3 separate regions of the Homo sapiens genome follow, and all the other regions are linked to region 3. The links are contacts of gene promoters, found by promoter capture Hi-C in blood cells and fetal thymus (Javierre and others, 2016). All regions are on one chromosome and are shown on one strand. Each heading gives the region's core, a stretch centred on a gene start or on the middle of the fragment in contact. The rest is flanking DNA. Distances are from core to core; before and after follow the strand shown. Region 1 holds the start of KLRK1 (killer cell lectin like receptor K1). Region 2 holds the start of M6PR (mannose-6-phosphate receptor, cation dependent). Region 3 has its middle 13 kb from the start of CLEC2D.

Region 1 (3,093 bases), core at 104-2,603, 730 kb before region 3:
CTGTAATCTCAGCACATTGGGAGGCTGAGGCAGGAGGATCACCTGAGGTCAGGAGTTCGAGACCAGCCTGACTAACATGGTGAAACCTCGTCTCTACTAGAAATACAAAAATTAGCCAGGTGTGGTGGCACATGCCTGTAATCCCAGTTATTCTGGAGGCTGAGACAGGAGAATTGCTTGAACCCAGGTGGCGGAGGTTGCAGTGAGCCGAGATCGCCCCGTTGCACTCCAGCCTGGACAACAAGAGTGAAACTCCATCTCTTAAAAAAAAAAAAAAAAAAAGTAATTAATTTCCATGTGGGCAAAAACTTTCTTTTGGATTGTTTACTTTGACATTCTCAAGATCTAGAAAAGTGCATAGCAAATAGCATTCGCTAAAGAAAAAAAATGTTGAATAAATTTATTGTCCAACTTTAACACATCACCACATGAAAGCTGTTTTCCTTCCTTATATTTCAGAGTTTTAAGATTAATAGCTTTGGTTTTTGTTAAAATGTTATAATGTGTTCATCTTATATTACTTTATATGATGTCTTATGTTAGTATTTTAAATTAATAAACATAAAATATATATTTAGCTTATCTTGTTCATTGGTATCAATTCATATATTATTCTTATGTATACTGGGGTATATATTTAAGTTTCTAATTCTCCTGCATATGATGTAGATATGACAGAGATGCAATTTCATGTTTTTTATATTAAAATTTAAAAATTCCCAGGACTAATTTTTTGTAACTTAAAGGCCAGTGTGATAGTAACCCAGGACAAATTATTGAATAGGAGCTAATTTCCCACTTTATCTGCAATGTTACCTTATATTTTTTAATCTATGCACATGACTTTTTCTTGTCTGTATTTTTACCCTTCTCAATTTGTCTATCTATGCCCCACATGCCACTTTGCCTTTATTAATACGGTTTTAACATAGGTCTTACTATCTAGTAAAACAAGGCTCCCACATTTTCTTCATCTTCAATTGTGACTTTCCTAGTCTTGACTTTTGTAATTTAATGTACATGTAGAATTCTGCTTTGTAAGTTCTACAACAAAACCTGAGGTATTAACTGGAATTGAATTGAATCTCTAAAATATTTAGGATTAAATGGCATCATTTAAATTCATCATTTTCAAATCCTAAAATGTTATTTAAAATAATGGCAAAACTACAATTACTTTTGCACCAACCTAACATTTATCCAACAATGGGTGGTCTTAACTCTTTTACCAAATTAACAATATTTTTGTAGTGATAAGGCGGAAGTACTGTGGTTTATGTTTTTCCACAGGAAGATGAGATTATAATATTTGTCACATCTTTCTCAAAGATAGAAATTCACTAAGTATCTCCACTTTCAATTCTAGATCAGGAACTGAGGACATATCTAAATTTTCTAGTTTTATAGAAGGCTTTTATCCACAAGAATCAAGATCTTCCCTCTCTGAGCAGGTGTGTGTATGTGTGTATGTGTGTGTGTTTATTATTCAAGATATGAGAAATTATATTTCAACCTCAAAAAAATAAAAATATTTACACTATAAGGTAATTCTAATTGTTTCTTAGATGCTTGAATAGAACTCCTGAGGATACGGAATGCTTATCATTTCTGATGTATATTCTATCACTGTATCTGATGATAGGTAATTAGGATATACTTATTGAAGAATCAGAAGTTGTAATATTACTATAAGAAGAAGCCTTGTCTCTAAGCAAAACTAGAAAAATGAATCTTTACATTTAGGATGAGAAGAATTGAGATTCAATTTAAATTGTCAAATTTTTGAGTTTTCTGATGCTGTAGGGGGCACTTACCTTTGATACACATCTTTACATGCAAGGTGAAACAAGTTATATCTGTGCTTTCCAACTATCATAATCAAATATGAAATAGCTTTTATTTTTGAAATCTAAGCACTATGCTTATTTATTAAATGGTTTTTTCTGGAAGCTCTGCTGTGCATTGCTAAGATGTTACTATATAAACATGTGAGATTAGTTTTGTTAATGATGATGGTGATGATAATTTGTTGATGATGATGATATGGGCACGTTGGATTAAAATGCACTAGAAAAGGACATTCAACAAAAGTGCATATAACTTACCTGAGTTTAGCTTGCAGAAAGAAAACTAAATTATTGCCAGATAAAATAAACAACTGGAAACACTTGATCTTAGCTAAAAGGCCAAGAAGCAATAAACGACTATAAACAGAAAACTGGGTGTGTTGTTATCTAATATCAGTAAAGTAAAATATTGGTATTAAATATCTCAATGTAGGTGAATTAATAGGTTCATTATATTGTTATGACATTTTGAAGTAATTGGCGATTATTTTACAACCAAGAGAAATGTATAAAATTAATTTTGCCTGGCTTTATGTGAATTGTCATTTCTATTCTTTTCTTAAAGGCATGCACAGGGGAAAAGTTTCTGCATTTTACTTTTCTATTCAAAATATTTTATCTCACCACGGGAAAGAGAACAAAAAACAAATGCCCAGTTTTATTTTATTCAGGAATCCTTTGTGCATTGAAGACTTTAGATTCCTCTCTGCGGTAGACGTGCACTTATAAGTATTTGATGGGGTGGATTCGTGGTCGGAGGTCTCGACACAGCTGGGGTATGTTTTTACCACATAAGTGTGTAGTTTTGTTTTTATACAATTTTAAGATACCAAGAATTTCATACAAGCATATAAGGCATAGGCAAGCAATTTACTCTGATTCTTTTCATGTTCTATTTATGTTGATTTCATGTTATGTTCATATTGTATTTTAAATCAAGTCTTCCAAAACTTAAAAACTTTTTTCCCTTTATTTTATTAACTATATTATGGTAAAGTCGCTCACAACTTGGGACAGCTTGAAATAGTGAAATAGATGTGGAGTCAGACTTGAATTTTACTCAAACTTTTACCGCTCTCTAGATTTGAAGGGTCAATTTGCAACCTCTGTGTAGTTTAGTTTAGTTTCTTTTTCTATCAAATACAGGCATGAAACATTCCATATTTATCTTAGATTTGTGTAATATTCAAATCAACTGACATGTATGTTAAAGCACTTTTTATCCTAAAGGTGTTTATAAATTTAT
Region 2 (3,008 bases), core at 508-3,007, 710 kb after region 3:
CAACTCCCAGGCTCAAGCAATCTTCCAGCCTCAGGCTCCCAAGCAGCTGGGACTACAGGTGTGCACCACCAAGCCCAGCTGATTTTTTTTTTTGAAAGAAGGGGTCTCACTATGTTGCCCAGGCTAGTCTTGAATTCCTGACCTCAAGTGATCCTTCTGCCCCGGAATCCCAAAGTGCTGGGATTACGGGCATGAGCCACAGTGTGGGACTGATACATTTTTGAAAAAAGGAAACAACATATATTCATGAAGGAAATACACACCCTCCTGGTGAGTTTATGTATGATTTTTGTTTTGTTGTTTTCTGTGTTATCTGATCACAAATTACTTTCATTTTCAGGAAGAAAAAAATTTAATTTTTTTTTTTATTGGGGCAACATCCAACCCAGATATGATTACTACCTAGCCTGAACTGAATGTATTACTAATAAACAAAGAAATGCAGAATGGCATACAGTCGGTAAAGCGTAGTGCTTGAGAGCATGGATTATGGAGACTATTTAAATACTGGCTCCATAACTTAATAGCTTGGGACCCACGGTGTTACTTAGCTTCTATCTGCTTTAATTTACTCATCTGTAAACTTGGGATAAGATACTTCCTCATAAGGTTGGTGTGAAGACCAAGTGAATTAACTATCGTTTAAAGCACTTACAAAAGTGCCGGGCACCACCGAGATATGCATCCGTTAGCTTTTATTATTATTAGACTCAAAACACTGTAGTAGTTCTAATGAGAGGGGTAAGAATCAAAAATCCAGGCACCTGCATAGAGCCAGAGAGGCACACATAGAAGCAACGTAAGAGTGGAAGCGGAATGAAAACATGCTAAAGCCAGGTACAAGCCACAAGCGAGGGTCCACAGGAAGAAATTGTTAATTCTGAAGAGAGTGAATGCACGAAGTTACAGGAAAAATAACATCTGAACAGAGTTTAAGAATGAGCAGGACTTCAACAAGTGGCTAGTAAGACATAAGGAACCTACAAAAGATCTTAGCAAAGGCGCAAAGATTACCATCGTATTGCTCGTTTCTTCCTACTTTGCAGAAGTAACCTCTGGCGAACAGAGGTGGTTGCAGAGCATGCTTATCAAGCAAAATACCACGAAGCAGTAAGGAACGACAGAGATAACAGTAACAATAATAATTCACCCCAAGGTACTCAACTGGAAAAAGGAAATACAGAGGAGAGGTGTCGTTAAGAAAGCCAGGACGCACATCACGGCCCCGTCGCTGCACTACTCTCGTCTAGGGGTCAACAGTGGAGTCGAGACTCGAAGCTTCCACGCGGCGGAACAGCGTCCCTCTCAGGCGGCGAACGGGCTAGGGAAGCGCCCGGAGGAGACCTAGCGTGAGAACTACAACTCCCGCGGAGCCCGAGGGCGAGCTGCCTGCGTAACTTCCGCTTCCGCCACCTGCCCCTCTCACCCTCTTCACTCGAACCCTACCCGGGAGCGGTCAGGCGCGTGACCCCGCGTGACCGGGGTGCGCGAGCCGAGAGGCCCTGGAAGCGGGACTCTGGGACCCCATTGAAAGAAAGGCAACCAGAAAAGGCGAAACGACAACCTCGATAGTGATTGGAGCTGATGGAACGAGGGCGGAGCTAAAGTCCCAGAATACTGGCCAATCAGAGTTTAAGATTATCAGGGAGCCCGGGAAGGGGAAAGGGGCGAAATGGTTCTATGGTCACATGCCGCGGGGTCTGGTGGGAGGAGCGGTTGCCCAGCGGCCTCTTGGCGCTTCCTGTTTCCGGTTCCCAGAGTGGGGCACAGCGAGGCGCTAGGGGGAACGCTGGCCTCTGAAACTAGCTCTGGGACCGGGGTCTGCGGCCGGCCCCTAGCTGGCCCCGTCTCCCATCCCCAGAAGGGTATTCACTGGGGATTCTGAGCTTTGGCTACTCCAGTTTCCCACGACACGTGAGTGTGAGGGGCGTGGAGGAGGAGGCGGGCTGGGTTGCGCTCACACTTAAGCGTCTGTGACAGGAGCCGGAATCGCATTCTCCCTTGACCATGGTTCTAGCCAAAGATCTGGCTGAGGAGCCCTAAGGGTAGAATGGAGGCGGAGGCATGAGAGCGGAGAGTCACGGAGTTCCGAAAGGTGTGAGGGAGAAAGGACTTCCAAGACCAGAGAGGGGATTTACGATATTTAGAAAGCAGGGAAAGGAAAATACCCCAAGTATGGAGTCCGTTGGAGGTGTTGGTGGATTTATTTGTAGGAGGAATTTTGGCCTGCATCACGGTGGGAGGTCAAGTGGCATCATTTGGAGAGGGTATGGCTACAAGCGCTTGGAAAGTCGGGACACTAGACAGAGCGAGAATTTCTGGCACCCTGGGAGAGCTTTGAGGGGGATGCGACTGTGGTGTGGATAAGAATGGCTGATGGACGGATTATCTTGTGTTCCTCGTTGTGGGGAGCTTCCGCTCTTGGGACATAGCCGCTACTTGTCTGAGGCTCCTTCTCTCTTGAGTTCTTTCAGCATTAGGCCTTTTAGCCAATTGAGGCTGCTTTTCTAAACATGTAGGCTGCTGGAGAAAAAGGGATAAGGACTGCTACATCAGAAAGGAGCCAGCGGGAAGACAGTAGAAATTCCACTGGTAAATGGCCATGGCTGTCTTAACAGATGGGGAAGTGAGTGCTACAGAGGCCCAGTGGTGTAAGCTGCTTCCCAGTTGCTGGCTTAGTCATTGGCCACCCTAATAAAGGATAATTTTTAGCATTGCCAAATAAAATAGATCTGTCGTTAGAGAATAAGAAAACTGAAAGATTTTTCAAGATCATAAAATCCTGCTCCTTATTTCCAAAGTATATAGACAAACTCTTGTACCTTGAGAATCTAATTGTAGCATATTAAAAGGGGGCTACTGGGCCCTTCCATTTCATTCTCTTCCTGATTGTTGCACCCCTATGTTTATAAGTTTTCCAGCAGTTATCTTTATGCCACGAATCGTCTAAATTGCCCCAGTAACTTCACACACATTTAATATCTGTGTAATGTACAGCAAGTAATTTA
Region 3 (2,994 bases), core at 261-2,760:
CAGTATCTTAGGAATCTCATAAAATTTCACATTTCTATAAATGATGAACTTACACAAACACAGCTTAAAGAAAGGTAAAACACCATTTCTTATTTGACAATGCTTCTAGCAGTATTTGCCAAATAAGCCTAATCATTTAATAACTCTACAAGAAAGACAAGCCTTTGGAGGAGCATATCTAGGGGGTCCACCTGGAAAAATCCCAGTCATTTTTAGGCCAAAAGGCTTAATTTAGGATTTGGATTCTAGAGAAACCTGCCAAAGATGTCAAAAAGCTTAAAATACTTCCTTCAACAGATAATAAGTCACTGCTAAGAATACTACTCATTTAATCAGAGTGACAACCTAAAGACCTCAGAAAGTTACATGGATGGAAAAACTTTTACCCTTTTAAGGCTCAGTTTCCCTAAGCAGTCAAAGCCTAATAAAGACACCATGAAGCACTGGGAATTATCTTGGTAAAACACAGAATCTTTGTTTTCTAGGCCAGTGACCTTGATCAGGGGAATACATTTAATAACAACATAGGAAATCCTAGTAACAAAACAATTTTGACACATTAAGAAAAAACAACAATATAGAATCAAGTTTTGCTGAAGTAAAATGTTGCCTTTCTAGACCTTTAAGATAAATCCCAAACCAGGACTAGACAGTTCTCAGGAAGGAATGTGGCAGAAATAGGAATTAGTTTGTAATTCAGAATGGCTGTTAAGGAAACATTGCAGAATTAAAAATCAAAGCCTCTTGTAATCTTACTAAGAACAAATCAATATTTTAAGAGACTCATATTGTTTTAATGTAGGAGACCAAAATTTAAGTTTTGTATCAGTGCATCTTAACATCAAAGTTCCATTTTTTCCAACTTTTATTTTAGATGTAGGGGATACATGTGCAGGTCTGTTACTTGCAGTTTTTCCAGGGGCATGGTGGAAGCTGCTGCTGATTCCACCATTCTGGAGTCTGGAGGATGGTGGCCCTCTTCTCACAGCTCTACTAGGTAGTATCCCAGTGGGGACATAACTGGCAACTGTAGACATAATTGTTTGGCTTGCTACAAATCCATTTTCTGTTCATGTAGATTCTGCCACTGTTGACTCCATTGTCATTCAGGAAGGCACATTCTCCACTTCCTCTGATAGCAAGCCTAAATCCAAACACAAAAATATTAAATATTTGTAAGTTAGACACCTGCATTTGTTCCTCCCCATCATCTTCTGCAACCCCTCCATATTTCAATGTGAATAAGAGAAAAGCAAAAGTCTGTCATTAATATTGCTTCATAGTAATATAAACCATTTCTGTATTTAGTGTCCTTTATGTCCTCAAGGTCCTTGCTTGAAAATCACAAGCTTATCATTCATCCATACCAAGCCCAGCTATGTTGATAGGTATTTAACTGATGCTTGCTGCTGTACCCAAATGAACTGCTGCCATTGGTGGTCTTCAGTCAAGATGATTTCCAGCCTCCTCCCAAATTGTTTTGTAAATGTGTGAAAACTAAAAAAAAAAAAAAAACTAGTAAATTCCTGAAAGGGCTTAGCTTTGATTAATGGATATGACTGGGTTCCTACATTTTATCTGCTGCAATGTAATGATTATATTCAAAATACCCCTTTGAAATGTTCACAGTCCAAGGAACTGTTACTAGTTTCCTTCTGGTGATAAAGCTTTAGGAGGGAGAGATTCCCATGAGTTCCCTGGATGCTTTCCTATTGTAAATGGATGCAACACCTGCAAGAGTGGGCTTAACAGCCTTGTGGATATCAGCTCCTCAGTGGCTTCCTATGATTGTAGAACCTTTGTTGCACATCAGCTATAAGTAGGGATTTCAGCAGTTTTAAATCAGTGGATGAAAGTGTAAAATTGTGAGAAATGTCACTGTCACATTAAAGACTTCAACTGAAATCACAGGTAAAGCTTTCCCAAAGACACAGCTAACCAACTGAAGAGCATAAAAAGGGTTTAGATTTCTTACCTCATATTGCAGTAAGTTTTCCATGATACTACATTTCTTATCTCATAAACACAACTCACACACATAACCATACATAAACACAGCAAAAGATGAGAAGTCTCAAAACATACATGTTATTATATTCCATGTTGTCTGTCCATTTCCAAATGCGATGGGATGATTCTCTTCTAAGGCCAATCCAATGGTCAGAAGGGCCTTTGTATCTTTTCAGGAAATTCTATAATAAAACAGAAACTAACACCATGAGCCCCTTTCTTTCATATTACTCTGGAGTCTCTCTTCCCTATCCCTTCTCTTTTTCACTGGCAGCGTGGTATAATTAAGCAGCATAAATTCTGGAGTGAGACTAATTCCCAGTTCTCAGTTTAAGTCATTTAACGTCTCTGATCCTAAATTACTTTATTTAAAGTGAGCATAAATCCCAGTTTCATTGGGAAATTCTCAGTTTATGCTTGTCATTCCACCAATGTATTAATGATCACTTTTAATGCCCTATATGTCTTAATCTAGATGACAAATTATATAATTACCTTACTTCTTAATAGAATGAGAACAATACATCTCATCTTACCAGCTCACCATGAGCATTACATGGGGAAATATATCTAAAATGTCTCACAGGGTTCCAGGCAGAGAACACACCCTCAACAAATGTTAGACATGAAAACACATCTCATGCCCCTGGAATGGGATCCTTCTTAGTATTTCAGCTTTAACCCTATGTAGCCGACCTGCCTCAGGGGGCTAAGTATTTAACAGAAAACATGATCCAAAAATATCTCTTACCAGTTCCTCCATAGTTGCAAACTGAGCAAGGCTGGCTTCTAATGAGACACAGAACGTTTGACTCAATGTCTAATTTCTTATGCCTTCAGAAAAATAAAAACATTTACTCCTAAATCTAATTCAGCTTTTTGGGCAAGCAGCGTATTTAGATGACTCTACCACTGGCTTTTCCTTTCTTGCTAAAAGTGAGACAATCACAATGAAACATAATAAAGAAATTTTCTCACCCATTT

Evidence for each region. Contacts are between HindIII fragments. The CHiCAGO score rates a contact against its expected background, and 5 or more counts as called.
Region 1: a contact is called between the fragment with the promoter of KLRK1 here and a fragment that was not itself captured in region 3, in 1 of 17 cell types (naive CD8 T cells). The highest score is 7.3, in naive CD8 T cells.
Region 2: a contact is called between the fragment with the promoter of M6PR here and a fragment that was not itself captured in region 3, in 1 of 17 cell types (non-activated CD4 T cells). The highest score is 6.4, in non-activated CD4 T cells.

What each region holds. Positions count from the first base shown.
Region 1 is chr12:10,388,301-10,391,393 of GRCh38, reverse strand. It overlaps KLRK1 (killer cell lectin like receptor K1), which reads left to right and starts at 1,353. Exons shown (of 8, transcript NM_007360.4): 1 at 1,353-1,451; 2 at 2,519-2,623. The coding sequence starts at 2,584. It overlaps KLRC4-KLRK1 (KLRC4-KLRK1 readthrough), which reads left to right. Exons shown (of 13, transcript NM_001199805.1): 7 at 2,519-2,623. The coding sequence starts at 2,584. All of the region lies in intron 3 of KLRK1-AS1 (KLRK1 antisense RNA 1), which reads right to left. The HindIII fragment of the contact is 4,388 bases long and covers 1-3,093 here.
Region 2 is chr12:8,948,394-8,951,401 of GRCh38, reverse strand. M6PR (mannose-6-phosphate receptor, cation dependent) reads left to right here and starts at 1,757. Exons shown (of 7, transcript NM_002355.4): 1 at 1,757-1,914. It also overlaps a transcript of KLRG1 not described here. RefSeq lists enhancers at 1,055-1,184, 683-1,587, 1,588-2,493 and a silencer at 1,163-1,377. The HindIII fragment of the contact is 9,162 bases long and covers 1,281-3,008 here.
Region 3 is chr12:9,655,071-9,658,064 of GRCh38, reverse strand. It overlaps the pseudogene LOC374443. Among named protein-coding and RNA genes, the nearest start is that of CLEC2D, 13 kb to the left of the region's middle. The HindIII fragment of the contact is 318 bases long and covers 1,352-1,669 here.